Regions from separate parts of the Homo sapiens genome. Here all the other regions are linked to region 1. The links are contacts of gene promoters, found by promoter capture Hi-C in blood cells and fetal thymus (Javierre and others, 2016). All regions are on one chromosome and are shown on one strand. The core of a region is centred on a gene start or on the middle of the fragment in contact, and the rest is flanking DNA. Distances in the headings are between cores, read along the strand shown.

The links. Contacts are between HindIII fragments. The CHiCAGO score rates a contact against its expected background, and 5 or more counts as called.
Region 2: a fragment that was not itself captured here is called in contact with the fragment with the promoter of HOXC-AS2 in region 1 in 8 of 17 cell types (naive CD8 T cells, total B cells, naive B cells and 5 more); the score reaches 9.9 in naive CD8 T cells.
Region 3: a fragment that was not itself captured here is called in contact with the fragment with the promoter of HOXC-AS2 in region 1 in 11 of 17 cell types (naive CD4 T cells, naive CD8 T cells, total CD8 T cells and 8 more); the score reaches 11.2 in naive CD4 T cells.
Region 4: a fragment that was not itself captured here is called in contact with the fragment with the promoter of HOXC-AS2 in region 1 in 9 of 17 cell types (naive CD8 T cells, naive CD4 T cells, total CD8 T cells and 6 more); the score reaches 10.2 in naive CD8 T cells.

What each region holds. Positions count from the first base shown.
Region 1 is chr12:53,994,434-53,998,449 of GRCh38, reverse strand. HOXC-AS2 (HOXC cluster antisense RNA 2) reads left to right here and starts at 1,665. Exons shown (of 3, transcript NR_047505.1): 1 at 1,665-1,780; 2 at 2,541-2,617; 3 at 2,932-3,242. RefSeq lists an enhancer at 2,665-3,233. The HindIII fragment of the contact is 15,520 bases long and covers 1-4,016 here.
Region 2 is chr12:54,247,543-54,251,558 of GRCh38, reverse strand. The region is part of intron 3 of CBX5 (chromobox 5); the gene reads left to right. Among named protein-coding and RNA genes, the nearest start is that of SCAT2, 13 kb to the left of the region's middle. RefSeq lists a silencer at 2,354-2,553. The HindIII fragment of the contact is 5,143 bases long and covers 1-4,016 here.
Region 3 is chr12:54,155,255-54,159,270 of GRCh38, reverse strand. It overlaps a transcript of SMUG1 not described here. Among named protein-coding and RNA genes, the nearest start is that of SMUG1-AS1, 15 kb to the right of the region's middle. RefSeq lists an enhancer at 1-86. The HindIII fragment of the contact is 2,695 bases long and covers 431-3,125 here.
Region 4 is chr12:54,137,211-54,141,226 of GRCh38, reverse strand. No RefSeq gene overlaps it. Among named protein-coding and RNA genes, the nearest start is that of SMUG1-AS1, 3.4 kb to the left of the region's middle. The HindIII fragment of the contact is 3,759 bases long and covers 1-3,740 here.

The sequences.
Region 1 (4,016 bases), core at 416-2,915:
CGCCAGGGGTAGGGGCGGGGGCTAGTTTTCTCCTGCGTCTCTATGGATCTTTCTCCTCTGGGGTGGAGAGGGGCTGGGGAGAGTGTGTATAGTATGTGTGTTCCGGGGGGAGGAAAGTTAGGGGGAGACAGCTGCAGCTGGCAGCACCGACCCCAGCTCCATAGGCCCCCTCCCAAGTCTCTGCTCCTCCCCCTCTCTGGCTCTTTCCTTTTCCTTTTTGGTCTAAGGGGGCGGCTTAACGGGGCTGGGATTTCAACTCATGGGGGAGGATGAGGGATGTGTTTGGTTGGGGAGAGGCGACTTGGGGGTTCAGCTCCTTGGCGCCACTGTCTTCCCCTCCCTTGAGCTGGACTGAGCTGGGAAGCCCAACTTACAACAAGAAACAGAATATCTCTTTGGCCTTGATGGAGTTGGGTTAGCTGTCAATCAAAAAATCTCCCTCACTAGTTCAAGGAAAAGACAGGAGGTTCCAGTCCCCCTGCCGAGGCTTTCTCCAAATCCCCAGTACAGCCAGCACCTCCCCCAGCCCAGGGCGGCTGAGGACCGGGCCCGGCACTTGGGCGGCTGCTGGCAGCGATGAGCAGAGACGTTTAGCCCTCAGCGGGGCCCGGGGCCAGACTGAGACCAAGAGGACATCAGGGGACAGAGCCTGAGAGAGACTGAACCCGAGACAGCCTGGGACAGACCAACTGAAACATGGAGTCAGGCCCAAGAGAGGAAAGAAGGAAGCGGAGCATTAGAATAAAGGGAAAAAAGGGGGAGAATTAAAAGAAGGAAGGCAAGATGAAAAGAGATAGGAGAGCCGGGAAAGGCAGGCGTGCAGAGAGGGAGGCGGAGGAAGGGCGGCCGTAGGCAGGCAGGACGGGGCAGGGGCGAGCTGGCGGAGCAGCCGTGGCATTGTGCAGCCCGCTGGCTTGCCGGGCCTTTGCCGCGGGACCGGCTCCGGGCGCGGCGGCCACTTCTGTCTGGACACAAAGGCGGAAGAGGGCTCCTCTCCTGCCCCTCCCAGGAGACTTGCTCGGATGGGTACTCTAGGCCTCAGGGATATAGAACCCCATATTGGTCCAGACAGCCGCTTAGGCAGCTGGGGGCTGAGCCCTGCTCTATTCAAGGAGCGAAGAAACAGAAGAGGAAAGAGGTTTCACCCCTGCTCTTCCTTTGCGTCTTCTCCAAGCGACAAGGCCAGCTGCCCCAGCCTCAGCTTTCCTGGAGGAAAGAGTCCCTAAGGAGCCTCCCCTATGGGCCTCTGCTATTTGGGAGAGTTCCTCAAATAGACATTGGGGCCGTAAAGAGATGCCCCCTTCTCTCCTACCCCCTTTGAACACCGCCTTCTTTTCAACTCTTGAGCTGCCTGCGCACCCTGCCTGCCCACTCTGCGGAGGCGGCAGCAGCGGGCAGTGAGGCTCACCGGCGGGATCCCTGCTGCCGTGAAATCCCCTGTGAAACCAAGGAGATTGTCGCTTTCCTTTATTTTATTTTATTTTCTGGGACTATGACCTCCGAACTCTTCCCACTCAGAGGCAGGCACGGCTGTGGATCAGGAAGCAGGCCTCGCCCACAGCCCCTTCCCAGCCAATGCCTCATTTTCCCTGCGCCCTTCGGAGAGAGGCGGCCTTGGGGAGGGGGGCTAGAAGAGGCTGGGAGTTCCGGAGTCCACTGGGCGGAGGTTCCGCAGGTCCACAACTGCATGTGGCCTGTAGCCCCCATTCTCCACATTTGGAGGGGTGTGGGTGGCAGACCAGGGCTTTGAAGCGGACCTGCAGATTTCCCTCAAATCCAGGTTTGTAGGTGCGGGGGGCGGGGCACAAAGGATATAGGGGCACCAAGAAGGAAGGTCTGTCTTCCTGGGGTTCAGTTACTCCTTCTGAATCTTCTGCCATACTCCAGACTTCCCCTCACCCACATACTCCCTTCAATTTTCCTCAGCACCGCTGGGGCAAACCCAGGGACTGGAGGCCACTGGGAGTTCTTGTTGGGGAGGGGGAAACCCCAGCTTTAGCTCGCAGCTGTGCATTCACTCTGGTTCTTAGAGTTCCCTCCCACCCCCAAAAGACTTCACTGGGCACAGGAGAGACCCCTGAGGGGGAGGGGCACCCTTACTCCATCACCTGAAACCTGGGCAGCTGCGGCCACAACCAAACTAGCACCGTGGGAAGGACAGACAGAAAGATAGACAGGTTAGAGTCGTCCCCTCCCCCTGCCCCGCGCCTTCCTTTTAGTGATTTAAATTCCCTCCGGTTCAATCCACACCGTCAAGTTCGGATTAAATTTAAAACAGGCTTTCTCCGGTGTCCCCAGCGGGCCATCCCGGCTGCCGCAGGCAGGGAGCCCGCTCCCGGCTCGTCAGCACCCGCCCTGCGCGGAGAAGGCCGTACTCCATTTGCTTTCATTTTCCTTCTCCCCCTGAAATGGGCTCATTTCACCTCTCCACTGCCCTCTTCCCCTCCCCGCCCCCTCCCTGGTTCCCCTCTACTTTCCCCCCTTCTCTCTCCTGATCCCTCTTTGTTGGGAAAAACACACCCACACACAACTCCTCCTAGCTAAGGCCTGCGCTGGAAGCAGAAACTGAGTTCTCTTGGCCTGCCGCGAGGAAACCCGCGTCCTGCCCCCACCCAAGGTGGGTATCTGGGATCCCTACACACCAGGAGTCAGGTCCCGAGGCCCAGCAGGAGTGAAATCCCCAGGGCCTGTGAACGTGGCTCTCTCAAAGCCACGGCCTGCCGGGCCTGCATTCCCGCCGGCGCCCCCGCCCTGACGCTCCGCAGCAAGCGGGGCTATTTCCGGCTCCCCCAACGCGGTCTGGTTTTCCAGCCTGGGAGTGGCTGGAGGGGGAGCCGCCCCAGAGCTAGAGCCGCTCCCTGCCCTGCCCGGAGCCCCAGTGGCCCTGAGCGCCTTGTTACCTGATCTTTTGTGTGATGTATGTGTCGCAAGGAAATTTGCAGTGACTTTGGAGCCCAGACTGAGGAAGCGGAGGTGGCGAAAGGAGAGACAATACGAGCCCGAAGTACAATTAAGGGGCCAGAGCCGCTCGTCTCTCCCCCGCCCTCCCTGCCCGACTGCGAGCTGTCTGGCCTCAAACCTCAGGGCGACACGCGAACCTGGAGCCGGAAACTCAGCCCGTGGCAGAGGGAGTCAGAGGACTCTGCATCCAGAAAACAGAAGCAAAGCGCCCTTCCAACTTGGGGACGCCTTAACCAGCCCCTCTCAGTTGCAGATAACCCAATGAATGAAAGTGCAAATTCCGCCGTTTTTCCCGATTTTTTTTCCAGCCTTGGGAAGGAGAGCTCAGGGTTTGGGGCGTCTCAGACAGAAAGGCAAACCGCATCTCCTGAGGCAGACAGACCCACAACATGAGTGTGAGCCTGAGATCACATACAGGTTCAACATTTCCCGAGGCCTCTTTGCCAGGCCCGGCGGGCGCCGATCTCCCTACCTTCTCTCCCTCCAGGGCCTCAGGCAGAGAGACCCAGAAGACTCTGTCCCTCTGGTTTGGTCCAATCCCGCTTCGGAAGCGCCTTCGTTACCTGGTCCTTCGCTCCCCACGGCCATAGATACAGGACAGGCGGCTCCCGCCTGGGGAGGGAAGCCCCGGCCACCACGGCCGCCGCCGCCCGCCCTCCTTCCCTCCCTCCCTCCTTCTCGCCCTCCCTCTCTCTCCCTCCCTCGCGCGCTGCCGCTCGCGGGGCCCTCCCGCGGGCAACCTGGTCTGGACCAAATCCAGGTATATCCGAAAGAGAGAAAAAAGAAAGGACCTTTTACGCGGAAAAGAAAAGACAGAAAGACCTTCCATTGCATTTATTTTTCATGCTGTGACCATTGGTCGGCCTCAGTTCAGACGTCCCGGACACGGCCCGGCAGCTGCAGAGGCGTGCAGGGCCTGCAGCCTCTCCCACGCTGACCGCCGCGCCCCGCGCGCCGCTTGCTCCACACTCTGGGCCGCCGCCCCCAGGGCAGCCCAAACACCCAGCAGACCTCAAGGTCCTTTCTATAGACTCAACATGCGGTTGCCCGCCTCG
Region 2 (4,016 bases), core at 848-3,347, 250 kb before region 1:
CCACCACACCTGGCTGATTTTTTTTTTTTTTTTTTTTTTTTTGAGACAGAGTCTTGCTGTCACCCAGGCTGGAGTGCAGTGGCACTATCTTGGCTCACTGCAAGCTCTGCCTCCCGGGTTCACGCCATTCTCCTCCCTCAGCCTCCCGAGTAGCTGGGACTACAGGCGCCTGCCACCACGCCCAGCTAATTTTTTTGTATTTTTAGTAGAGACGGGGTTTTACCATGTTAGCCAGGATGGTCTTGATAATTTTTGTATTTTTAATAGAGACGGGGTTTCGCCATGTTGGTCAGGCTGGTCTTGAACTCCTGACCTCGTGATCCGCCTGCCTTGGCCTCCCAAAGTGTTGAGATTATAGACGTGAGCCACCATGCCCAGCCGGGGCTTTGAAATGTTTACCATTTCACTTCCTTTTTTCTTTTTTTTTGGAGACAGAATATCGCTCTGTCACCCAGGCTTGAGTGCAATAGTGCGATCTTGGCTCACTGGAACTTCCACCTCCTGTGTTCAAGCAGTTCTCCTGCCTCAGCCTCCCAAGTAGCTGGGATTACAGGCACACGCCACCATGCCCAGCTAATTTTTTGTATCTTTAGTAGAGACGGGGTTTCACCATGTTGGCCGGGCTGGTCTCAAACCCCTTACCTTGTGATCCATCCACCTTGGCCTCCCAAAGTGTTGGGATTACAGGCGTGAGCCACCGCGCCCGGCCCTTTCTTTTTTTTTTTTTTTTTTTTTTTTTTTTTTTTTGAGACGGAGTCTCGCTCTGTCGCACAGGCCGGACTGCGGACTGCAGTGGCGCAATCTCGGCTCACTGCAAGCTCTGCCTCCCGGGTTCACGCCATTCTCCTGCCTCAGCCTCCCGAGTAGCTGGGACTACAGGCGCCCGCCACCGCGCCCGGCTAATTTTTTGTATTTTTAGTAGAGACGGGGTTTCACCTTGTTAGCCAGGATGGTCTCGATCTCCTGACCTCATGATCCACCCGCCTCGGCCTCCCAAAGTGCTGGGATTACAGGCGTGAGCCACCGCGCCCGGCCCCGGCCCTTTCTTTTGTTCCAGTGATAGCATTTGTTTTCAATCCTTGATAATCTTTTTTTTGCAGTGAAAATCATATAATATACAATTAAATATTTTATTTATTTATTTATTTTGAGACAGAGTCTTGTTCTGTCACTCAGGCTGGAGTGCATGGGCGTGATCTCGGCTTACTGCACCCTCACCTCCTGGGTTCAAGTGATTCTCCTGTTTCAGCCTTCTGAGTAGTTGGGATTACAGGCATGTGCCACCATAGCCAGATAATTTTTGTATTTTTATTTTTATTTTTTATTTATTTTTTTGAGACGGAGTTTCACTCTTGTTGCCCAGGCTGGAGTTCAATGGCATGATCTTGGCTCACTGCACCCTCCATCTCCTGGGTTCAAGTGATTCTTCTGCCTCAGCCTTCCAGAGTAGTTGGGATTACAGACATGCACCACCATGCCCAGCTAATTTTGTATTTTTAGTAGAGAGGGTGTTTCTCCATGTTGGTCAGGGTGGTCTTGAACTCCCTAACTCAGGTGATCCACCTGCCTTGGCCTCCCAAAGTGTTGGGATTACAGGTGTGAGCCACCATGCCTGGCTCAATTAACAATTTTAAAATGTACAGTTCAGTGGCATTTATATTCTCTTGATCTATTATTTCTACATACTTGGCGTACAAAATTAATTTTTGTCTTTTGAATCTTCTTCAGTTTGGGAAGTGTATTTATGAAATTTTGGTTTGATTTAGTTGCTTTAATCCTTCTGATCTTTAGCTCTCAAGTAAGTAGCATAAGCACTGTTATTGCCTCTCTCTCTTTTCATCTGTGTGTGGGCGCATAAATACACACACTCTACCACCTCCTCCCGCCCCCAGCTTCCATTCCTTTTATTTATTTCAAGGTTATGAAGCCTTTTGTGGTGAAGGATGTATCATACACTTTACATTTCATAAAAGCGTAAGTCTACTTCGGAATCTTCCAGCCTTCCAGAGTAGCTGCCACAATCATCCCTATGTATCTTCATTCTAATTAGATTTATACCTTTCTAGAGCATTAGTTCTCAATGCTACACATTATAATCACCTGGGGGGTACGTTAAAAAAAAAAAAAAATCTCCAGTGCCTAAGATGCACCCCAGACCAGTAAAATTAGAATTTTTTTTTTTTCTTTTTTTTTTGAGACATAGTCTCACTCTGTTGCCCAGGCTGGAGTGCAGTGGCACAATCTCACTGCAACCTCTGCCTCCTGGGTTCAAGCGATTCTCCTGCTTCACCCTCCCTAGTAGCTGGGACTACAGGCACATGCCACCATGCCTGGCTAATTTTTTGTATTTTTAGTAGAGATGGGGTTTCACCGTGTTAGCCAGAATGGTCTCAATCTCCTGACCTCGTTATCCGCCCATCTTGGCCTCTCAAAGTGCTGTGATTACAGGCATGAGCCACCACACCTGGCCTCTGTCATTTTTAAAAAGGAGCAGTCTGAATAATCTGGCTTGGAGCCACTGGCCAGTGCACAGAGTTTTGTTCCTAGGCCAGGTTCTGAAGCTGCCGACCTTGAAAACAACCCCCACATGTCCCTTACATCATAATGTTCATCTGGGACCCCTGATAGCATTCTTAGCAGTACTGGCTGCTGTCAGGTAGACAGCTGGAAAGATAGGTGATTGTATGTTTTAAAGGTATAGGAGGGGATTGTGTTTATTTCTTAAGACCACTGGAGAAGAAATTTGTTAGTTTGCATTATGCCTGATTTAAGATTACTGCCTGTATGATGATTTTAGCATTTTCTTCGCCCTGGCTCCTTTTCAGCAGCTTGAACGTTTTTCTTCCATTCGCCTCCTCTTCCCTCCCTATGTAGCAAACTGTTTTCAGTTGCCAGTTATGATTTACAACTTAGTCCATGCACCAGCATTCCAGCTGTGAGCAGCTGTGTGCACATCTGGGAACTTCTTCCCCTTAAGCACCCCCAAAAGAGGCTATGTTTTTAAAAGTCAGTATCTCTCATTGATCCACGCGTGGAATGTCCTTCCAATTGTGAATTTTGGTATCTTTGGGGACCACCCGGACCCCAAATGCTTTGTATGTCTCAGAGGAAAGCAGGTGAACATAAGATCAAAGAGATTTTATTATGAAAATCGGGCAGTAGAGATTTAGTTCATTTGGGCATCTCTAAATCTTTTTTTTGTGTGTGTGTTGCCACTAGAGAGGCTAGCATTATCTTCCATAATAAAGTTTTTTCAAATTACCTAGTTTGGGCCGGGTGCGGTGGCTCACGCCTGTAATCCCAGCACTTTGGGAGGCTGAGGCGTGTGGATCACTTGAGGCCAGGAGTTCAAGACCAGTGTGGTCAACATGGTGAAACCCTGTCTCGACTAAAAATACAAAAAATTAGCCAGGCGTAGCCGGGTGTGATGGCTCACATCTGTAATCTCAGCACTTTGGGAGGCCGAGGCAGGGTGGATCACCTGAGGCTAGGAGTTTGAGACCAGCCTGGCCAAAATGGTGAGACCCCTGTCTCTACTAAAAATGGAAAAATTAGCCAGGTGCGGTGGCACGCACCTGTAATCCCAACTACTCAGGAGGCTAAGGCAGGAGAATCGCTTGAATCTAGGAGGCAGAGGTTGCAGTGAGCTGAGATTGTGGCACTGCACTCCAGCCTGGGCAACAGAGCAAGACTCTGTCTCAAAAAAAAAAAAAAAAAATTAGCCAGGGGTGGTAGCAGGCACCTATAATCCCAGCTACTCAGGAAACTGAGGCAGGAGAATCACTTGAACCTGGAAGGTGGAGGTTGCAGTGAGCTGAGATTGCGCCACTGCACTTTAACCTAGGCAACAGAGGGAGACTGTCTAAAAAAAAAAATTACCTGGCTTGTATAAAATTTTGCTTTTTGGCTCTCATCAGTGTTACTACACATGGATTTGAACCTGTGCTCCTTGTCTAGATTGTATTACTACATTTAGACCAAGTTTCAATACTCATCTCATGAATTATCAAATTTTT
Region 3 (4,016 bases), core at 529-3,028, 160 kb before region 1:
GGGACGGACTGCACAGCTCCTAATTACCTCCTTCTTCAGTGAGGGCTGAGGGCTGGGGGCTCGACGCCGGGCTGTTATGAGACCCCTCTCCTCCGCTGGGGCTGGGGCTGGGGCTGGGGCTGACAACCTGAACTACAGCCAGGCTTGGAGGCAGGCAGCATTCCCTGAACTGCCCTAGGGTGAGGAGGGTGTGGGGGCACTAACCTGGGGTGTGGAGTGCGAGGAGTGCTTCTGGAAGGTTGACAGAGGGAGAAAGTGCATCATAAGTGACTTGGGAAACTGGGATAGGATATTAAATGAATGACCTTTCTCCAAGGCCATCCCACAGAGGGCAAGATTCAGGTTAAATATCAAGGCAAACTTCCTGGCAGCCAGGGATAAGTGCACTTGAGCAAAAGACAGAAAGGTGGAGATAGAGGTTTGGAAAGCTTTTTATAAGATGAATCAGATCATCATTTTCCTGTCTGGTGGGTGGCTCGTGGCAAATAGCTGCAGAAGTAGGCTGGAGTTAGAGTAGGAGGGCTGGAGGTAGAACTTGGAATGATTTGTTGGAGCGGTGGGTTGGGTGACACTGAACTGGACGCTTGAGGAGGTTGTGACACATCAGTGTGGGAGGCTCCAGGTCTGGCCTGGCTTGGGGAGGGATGAGGAAGACCCCAGGATTGTAAAGATGATGGAACTCCTCCAGACTTCTCCCCGGGGGCACTGAGGTGTTAGGGGGCAGAGGCATGTATTCAACAACACCCCAGTGCAATGGGATGCCTGGTGGGTGTGAGTGCCCCTGGCTGGAGGCAGGCAAACAGGTGGTTTGGGAATGGGACCACTACAAGATTTCTTCTGATTCTGAGATCCTAGGAATCCCAAAATTAGGATTCTGCAGGTTTCAAGAAGGGAAAGTAGGGAAGGGTTGGGCACAGAGCTGGTGAGTAGCACCAGGCATTTTGGCTGCCAGCCCCCTTCTCCTGGTGGTAGGGGCTATGATGATGTGGCTATGATAATTGCTATCCTTATTAAATGATATTGCAACTCACAGTAATGACAACTCCACCAGGATTCATTGCTCATAGTCCTCCCATTTTGGGGGATCTCTTGGCTGAGGAAGAGGGGGAAGGGGACCTTGAGTCCCTTTCCACCCCCGGTCCCAAAAGGAGGACAAAATAAACCAGTTGTCCAGGTAAGCAGACCTTGAGGGGTCAGTCAGTGTGGATAGAGAGGAAGGGAGTTGGGGGGAAGGCAGCAGGAAGGCTCCTCATGTTCCAGTGAGTCCTTTTTTTTTTTTGAGATGGATTCTCACTCTGTCGCCCAGGCTGGAGTGCAGTGGCCCAATCTCGGCTCACTGCAACTTCTGCCTCCTGGGTTCAAGTGATTCTCCTGCCTCAGCTTCCTGAGTAGCTGAGATTACAGCCTGCCACCACGCCCAGCTAATTTTCGTATTTTTAGTAGAGATGGGATTTCATCATGTTGGCCAGGATGGTCTCAAACTCCCGACCTCAGGTGATCCGCTCACCTCAGCCTCCCAAAGTACTGGGATTACAGGCATGAACCACTGCACCCAGCTCCAGTAAGTCCTTTTCTGAATGGTCCCCTGCCAATCTTTATTTGTCTCCCAGGGCATTTTTCCCAATCACCCCCACCCCTGGGTTTACGTGGATTGCAAATTGTTGGGCTGTCCTCAGCAGCAGTGCCCCCTCATTCCCCCCCACCTGACTCCTCACTGTCCTCCTAAGCTCATCAGGCTGTGGGGTGGACCCTCCCTCACCCTTGTCCTTTATAGTGCCCTGGGTGCCCTTCTCTATTGGCATGAGTCTTGAGGGAAAAGGTTAGGTAAGAGGTTGCTTACTGTGCTCCCTGGTGTGTGTGCGCGTGTCTCTGCTTCTAGGACAGTTTCTTCATGTGCGTGCTGGGGTTCAGGGTACACAGACTGTGTGGGGAGGCAGCTATGCTTTTGCCCATTCAGGGTGGTTATGAAAGGGAGACAGAAGGGGTGGGGATCTGGTGATCCATCATCTCCCCACCAGGGCAGACTGGAGCAGTTTTGTGAAACCAGGCTTTCCTGGTCTTAGCACTACACTTGTGTGTGTGCGTACACACACATACACACACACTCACACCACAGTCACCCCAAGAGGCAACCCACAGATGCATTGACATGCTTGATGCCTCAGGTTTTTTCCAAGGAAGTCTGCCCTGTAAGCTGCTCCCTAATTTATTACCCTACTTTATTAGAGTAAATTTCCTAGTAAGTCCCTTTGCATGGATCCCCCGTCACCCCAGACAGAAACCTTCCATAACTCCCCAGTGCCCATGGAGTGAAGCTCAGGCCCTCTAGCCGGCACTCAGGTTCTTCTCTGGTCTGTCTATTCCCAACCTGCCTTTCCAGCCTTGTCTCCCATAATCCTCCAGCAGGAGTGTCTTCCCCAAGAGGACTATTCCTGTGCACTTACATTTCCTCCCGCCTGGATCACCAGAGCGAGTGCCCTCCTCCCACTCACACCTCTAATCATTTTTTAGGCCCACCCCCTCCAGGTGGCCTTTTTGACTTCCCCAGCTTAGAGCAACTTCTTTCTTAGCATGTGGTCCTTGGCATCTGGAGGATGTCTTTCTACAGGCTGGGTCGGGGGAGCCTGTCTCCTCACTTCTGAGCCTCTCAAGGCAGGGCCTGTACTCATTCATCTTTATTTCCCTGGTGCCTAATATGGTGTCTGACATCTGTGTATGTAAATAGTTGAGAACCTGGCTCTAGGAAAGAGCAGCCTTCTGAATTGGTTTAAGTCCCTGCCCTGATTCTTCTGGCTCTGTGACCCTAAGCAAGCAGCTTCCCTTCTCTGGGCATCAGTTCCCTAATTGCACCATGGGGAGGTTGGACCTCCTTACTCTGAGATTCTGTTTTTGTGGTGGTGAGAATGGAGACTATCAGCCAGATGTAAATAGATGCATAGGTAGCCCCTTACAACACAGCAGGTGAGGAGGCTGGGGGGTGGTAACTAGATAAATGGCCAGGCCCATTTGATCTGTAGCCCATGTGATCTGGGCTACTTCCTTTGCCTCTTGCACCCTCTATTTATTGATATGAAAAATGGGATTGACGTTACAAGATTCCTTTGGACTTTAGGTAGGCAGAAGCTTAATTCACACACAGTACACAGAAGGACTTATTTGGAGAATTGTGTCTGGGGCCCCTCTCCCTTCTCATTTCTTCCCTAATGGTCTCTGCTCTGTTTCTTTTCCTCTTGATAATTGCCTGGGAGAACCTGTACTCACCTCCCTTCACATCAGCCCCAGTGGCTTGGTATCAGGCCTGAGTGCAGTCCCTGACTGGTAGTCTACGGGTGGGTCTGGGCTGCAGAATGCCTCAGTGAGCCTCCAGGCAGCTCCTCTGGTGGAGTCTCCTTTGCAAATGTTGTTGCTGCTTCAGGAACCACAGGATTTCCCACCACCCCAGATTCCCATATTCCTGACTCCTCTGCCTCCCACACATCCTGCCTTCTATCTGACCCTGACCTTGGGGGTCTCTCCCAGCCTGAGAAATGTCCCACTTGCCTCATTACCCTTCCCTGGGAATACTGAGGCTGGAATTGTCCGTGGAGGCCAGGAAAGTTCCTCAGAAATGTAAGGAAGGGGGTGGGGTCTTGAGTGAGGGGAGACCCCTATTCTACATTATGACCTCTGGCTCACCCCCACTTCCCAAGTCACCCTTGGGAGAGCACTGGATGCAGGCCTCAGAGTGTACCCCCAAACCCATGTCCCAGTCTCCATAAGGCCTTAGAGGTGGGAGATTTTCTTTGCAGGGAGCCGAAGGGGAACTGGTGTATGTTCAAGGTGCCCCAGGGTCCCAGCTTCCCAGCCCCTGCCCACTGTGTGATCTCCAAGGACCTTGCATCCAGCCTCAGGAAAGCCGCTCTGTTTACAGTGTGAGAGGTTTGTTCCCACTGATGCCACTCAGCCTAGAGCTCTGGAGGGAAGAGGGGAAGGACTGTGGGAAAATCGAGGGGGGAAACCACATGAACTTTGGAAGG
Region 4 (4,016 bases), core at 612-3,111, 140 kb before region 1:
GGAAAGCAGTGATTTCACCACATAACTGCACGTAGGGCGGATCTCAGTCTGAGAACTTCTGGGGAATGTGGAGAGGGGAGGGACGGTGCTTCCCAGAGGGGAGGAAAGGGCAAGGAGGGTTCTCGCTTCCAAAATAGCCTACCCAGGCCAAGGAAAACGGGGCCATATGCAGCCTCCCTCCTGCTCTGGCCTCTGTGGAGGGAAAGCTGAGGGGAGGGTGCATTCTTCCAAGGGGGGAGGAGGAGCAGCTATAGCAGGAGGAGGGCAGGAGCCAGATCACAGATGGAGAGCGGTGGGGAACAGGGGCATCTTCCACACACAGGGGCATGAAAGAGGAAGGCTGTAGGGTATGTGAATTCCAGGAGACAGTAGGCGCTCCCCTCCCTGTTCCCCAGGCTCTGTCCTGTCTCAGGAATCATAGAGTGTCTGGTCATGATGCTGGCAGGGTGGGATCGACTGTGGGGCACATGGGTTAGGGAGGCACCCCATATCTGGCTGGAATCCCAGTTCAGATTTGGATCATTTGAGGATGAGTGAGAGTCGGTTGGGGTGTTGACACCCCACTGTAACCTTAGTTTAAGAAGCTAAGGATTTATTGTTGGGGTGGAAGGTCACCTTCAGTTGGGAGGAGTGTAGGGAGAAAAAAGGGGCACCATTTGCATATAATTTTGCTTATAGTTTCCATACTCCTCCCCTTCAGGGAGACTTCCATGACCCTTTCCTTTCCCTTCCCAGGGAGGTTTAGGTGTGTGCATGGTGCTCCCCCGGTGCCCTAGGTGTACCTATAGTCTTGGTTCTTTTCACCTTGCTTTGTAAAGATCCGTGGTTTCTTTCCCCATCCAGACTGTCGGTGCCTTGATGACATGGACCTCCTTGTTCTTCTCTGTGTTCCTAGTTCCCAGCACAGTGCCTGGCAGCGAGCAGGTGCTCGGTGATGCTACCCTGCTGCTGCTGGAGCCCATTCCTCCCATGACCAATGTTCTGGGGGAAACAAAGGACAACCCGTAGGATGGTTCTTTAGCAGCCTGGAGGCCTCTGATGGGCTCTCAGCCTTTCTAAAACTGCAAGGATAGCTCCTATCTGACCGCCTCTGGGAGTCTCCTGGGAGGACCCTCAGTGACAGCACTTTCTTCTGCCCCTGAAACTTATTGCCCATAAGGCTCACCTTCATGGTCAGATATTTATTTATTAGAGACAGGGTCTTGCTTGCTCTGTCGCCCAGGCTGGAGTGCAGTGGTACAATCACAGCTCACTGCAACCTCTAGTGGGCTCAAGTGATCCTCCTGCCTCAGCCTCCCGTAGCTAGGACTACAGGCACTCACCATCACACTCAGCTAATTCTTTTTTCTTTTTGTTGAGACTGACTCTTGCTCTGTCACCCAGGCTGGGGTGCAGTGGCATGGTCTCGGCTCACTGCAACCTCTGCCTCCTGGGTTCAAGCGATTCTCCTGCCTCAGCCTCCCGAGTAGCTGGGACTAGGATTACAGGTGCCCACCACCATGCCTGGCTAATTTTTGTATTTTTAGTAGAGATGAGGTTTCACCATTTTGGTCAGGCTAGTCTCAAACTCCTGACCTCAAGTGATCCACCCACCTCAGCCTCCCAAAGTGCTGGGATTACATGCATGAGCTACCACACCCCACTAATTTTTAAAATTTCTTTTGTAGAAACAGGGTCTCGCTGCGTTGCCAAGGTTAGTCTCAAACTTTTGGCCTCAAGAGAGCCTCCTACTTTGGCCTCCCAAAGTACTGGGATTGCAGGTATAAGCCACCAGGCATGGCCCCTATTCTTATTTTTAAATCTGGGATGGATGTATCTCTTTTTTGTCACATGAGACCAAATGCTCTTTGGGGCCAGACTACCCATACTGTTTCTATGGCCCACAGTGCCTAGCATGAAGGAAGACTTCAGTCAAGACAGGTTGGCTGTGGACCAGCTGACCCTCTCTGTGAGTGCTGGTGCCTCCACGTGGTAGCTTTGTCTGGGGCTCTGAGGGCTGAGCTTCCATGAGCTGTTGAGTCAGGGATGTTCTGACATAAGGGGGTGAGTAGGACACATTAGAAGCTCCTGTCCTGGTGACACACGGCCTGAAGGGCCCTGTCAGCTGAGAGAATCAGTGCTCAAGGGGAATGTTGTGGAGATTACAGCGGTCAGAGGGTTTTATTCAGAGTCTCTGGGAGAGGAAAATAAGAAAGGACATGAGAGAAGGGGAAGGAAGGGCTAGGCAGAGGATGAAGGGGGATGTGCATGTGGGATAAACTTGACAGAGGGTGAGCAGGCAAAACAGCTTTGCCTGCTAGGGAAGACCCAAGTGTGAGCCTGGCAGGCCTTGTGTCTAGGAGGGACCTGGGCGATTGTAAACAATATACTATGCTCTGAAGATTGTACCCACCCCTCCAGTCCCCACTCCTATCCCTTCCCAAGATGGGGTCTTTGGTCTCACTGTGATTTCTAGGCCTAGCCTGAACTGTGCTGGGGTGACACCACCCAACACCAAGCTCAGATCAAACCAGCTTTGCTTCATACCCTTGGGGGCCTCCCTGAGGCTGGAGGGGACTTTGAAGTTGATGGAGAGAAGATTGGTGAGCTGTGTGCTAAGCAGGGATCTCTCAGCAGTCAATGAGGTGGAGAGGATCTCCACTCCCTTTTTTGGGGGGCTGAGATATTGATACCCTAGTTTTCAAAACCTAGGTTTTTCATCCTTGAATGCTGCCTAAGGCTGACTTGATCACCAGGTATCTCTGGGTGGTAGGGTGTGGCAGCATTGCTGAGCTCCAGAGAGCGCCATTCACTGAATTCCTGGAGCACAACTCTAGGTGGTGCCATTCACATAGAATTCAATGTGTAAGATGCCCCCCTCTCCCCTGAGGAGCTGTGCAACTATGGGTCACCATGATGCCCTTTTTGGGTCAGGGTTCTGTTTAGAAGCCCAAGCTGGCCAACATGAGAACTAGCAATATTCAAGTGAGACTTTGCCCAGAGACAGAGAGAGATGGACAAAATGATTTCCGAAGTTAAGTCTTCATGAAAGTGGTATCAGGAATGGAAGCTGTCTCCCAGAGTAACAGGACCATGGAGCAGTGCGTGGTCTTGGGCTAGATTAGAAATGACAAAAGTCCATCATCAGGGAAGGAAAACAGTCTTAAAATCCCTGGATTGGAAAGGATAACCCATATGTAAGCACCTAGTGGGGCCTGGCATTTAATAGGTAGGCAATTAATGCGAGGTGAGGCAGTAGCTCATGCCTATAATCCCAATACTTTGGGAGGCTGAGGTGGGAGGATTGCTTGAGGCCAGGAGTTTGAGACCAGCCTGGACAACATAGGGAGACCCCATCTCTACAAAAAATAAAAAATAAATTAGCCAGGCATGATGGTGTGTGCCTGTAGTCCCAGCTACTTGGGAGGCTGAGGTGGAGGATTACTTGAGCCCAGGAGGTCAAGGCTGAAGTGAGCCATGATCGTGCTACTGCACTCCAGCCTGGGTGGCAGAGCAAGACCCTGCCTCAAAGAAAACTCCCCCAAACGAACGAACAAACAAACAACCAACGATAACAACGAGGTGAAACAGAAGCAGAGTCTACACTCCAGTCTCTAGGTTTGCGGATCTTAGAGGCAGAATGGCCTAGCCACGATGGCTACACTTGCGCATGGGAACTCGCTGAAATCAGAAATGGGAACCCGACCTAGATAGAGGTCAGGAATTTGTTTTCTTCTTTTTTCTCCTTCTTAGGGAAAGCTTAGTCCGTTGTTTAGGATGAAAAATAACAACCAGATGAACGAAAGAAGGATCATCAGGAATGATGAGTAATGTGCTCCAGATGTGGCTATGGAGAACTGGTTCTGACGGGCACCGCTGCCTGCGAGTAGCCACCTTGTGGGGAGACCCCCTTATTTCAACAAGGGTGCAGTGACACAATTTTTTGCAGCCTTCTTTTGGAATTGTCTTCAGGGTGTGTGACTCAGTTTTTTGATCGTCCTTATTGGTGGTAAATCTTTATGCTTTGCTTTTTTGGA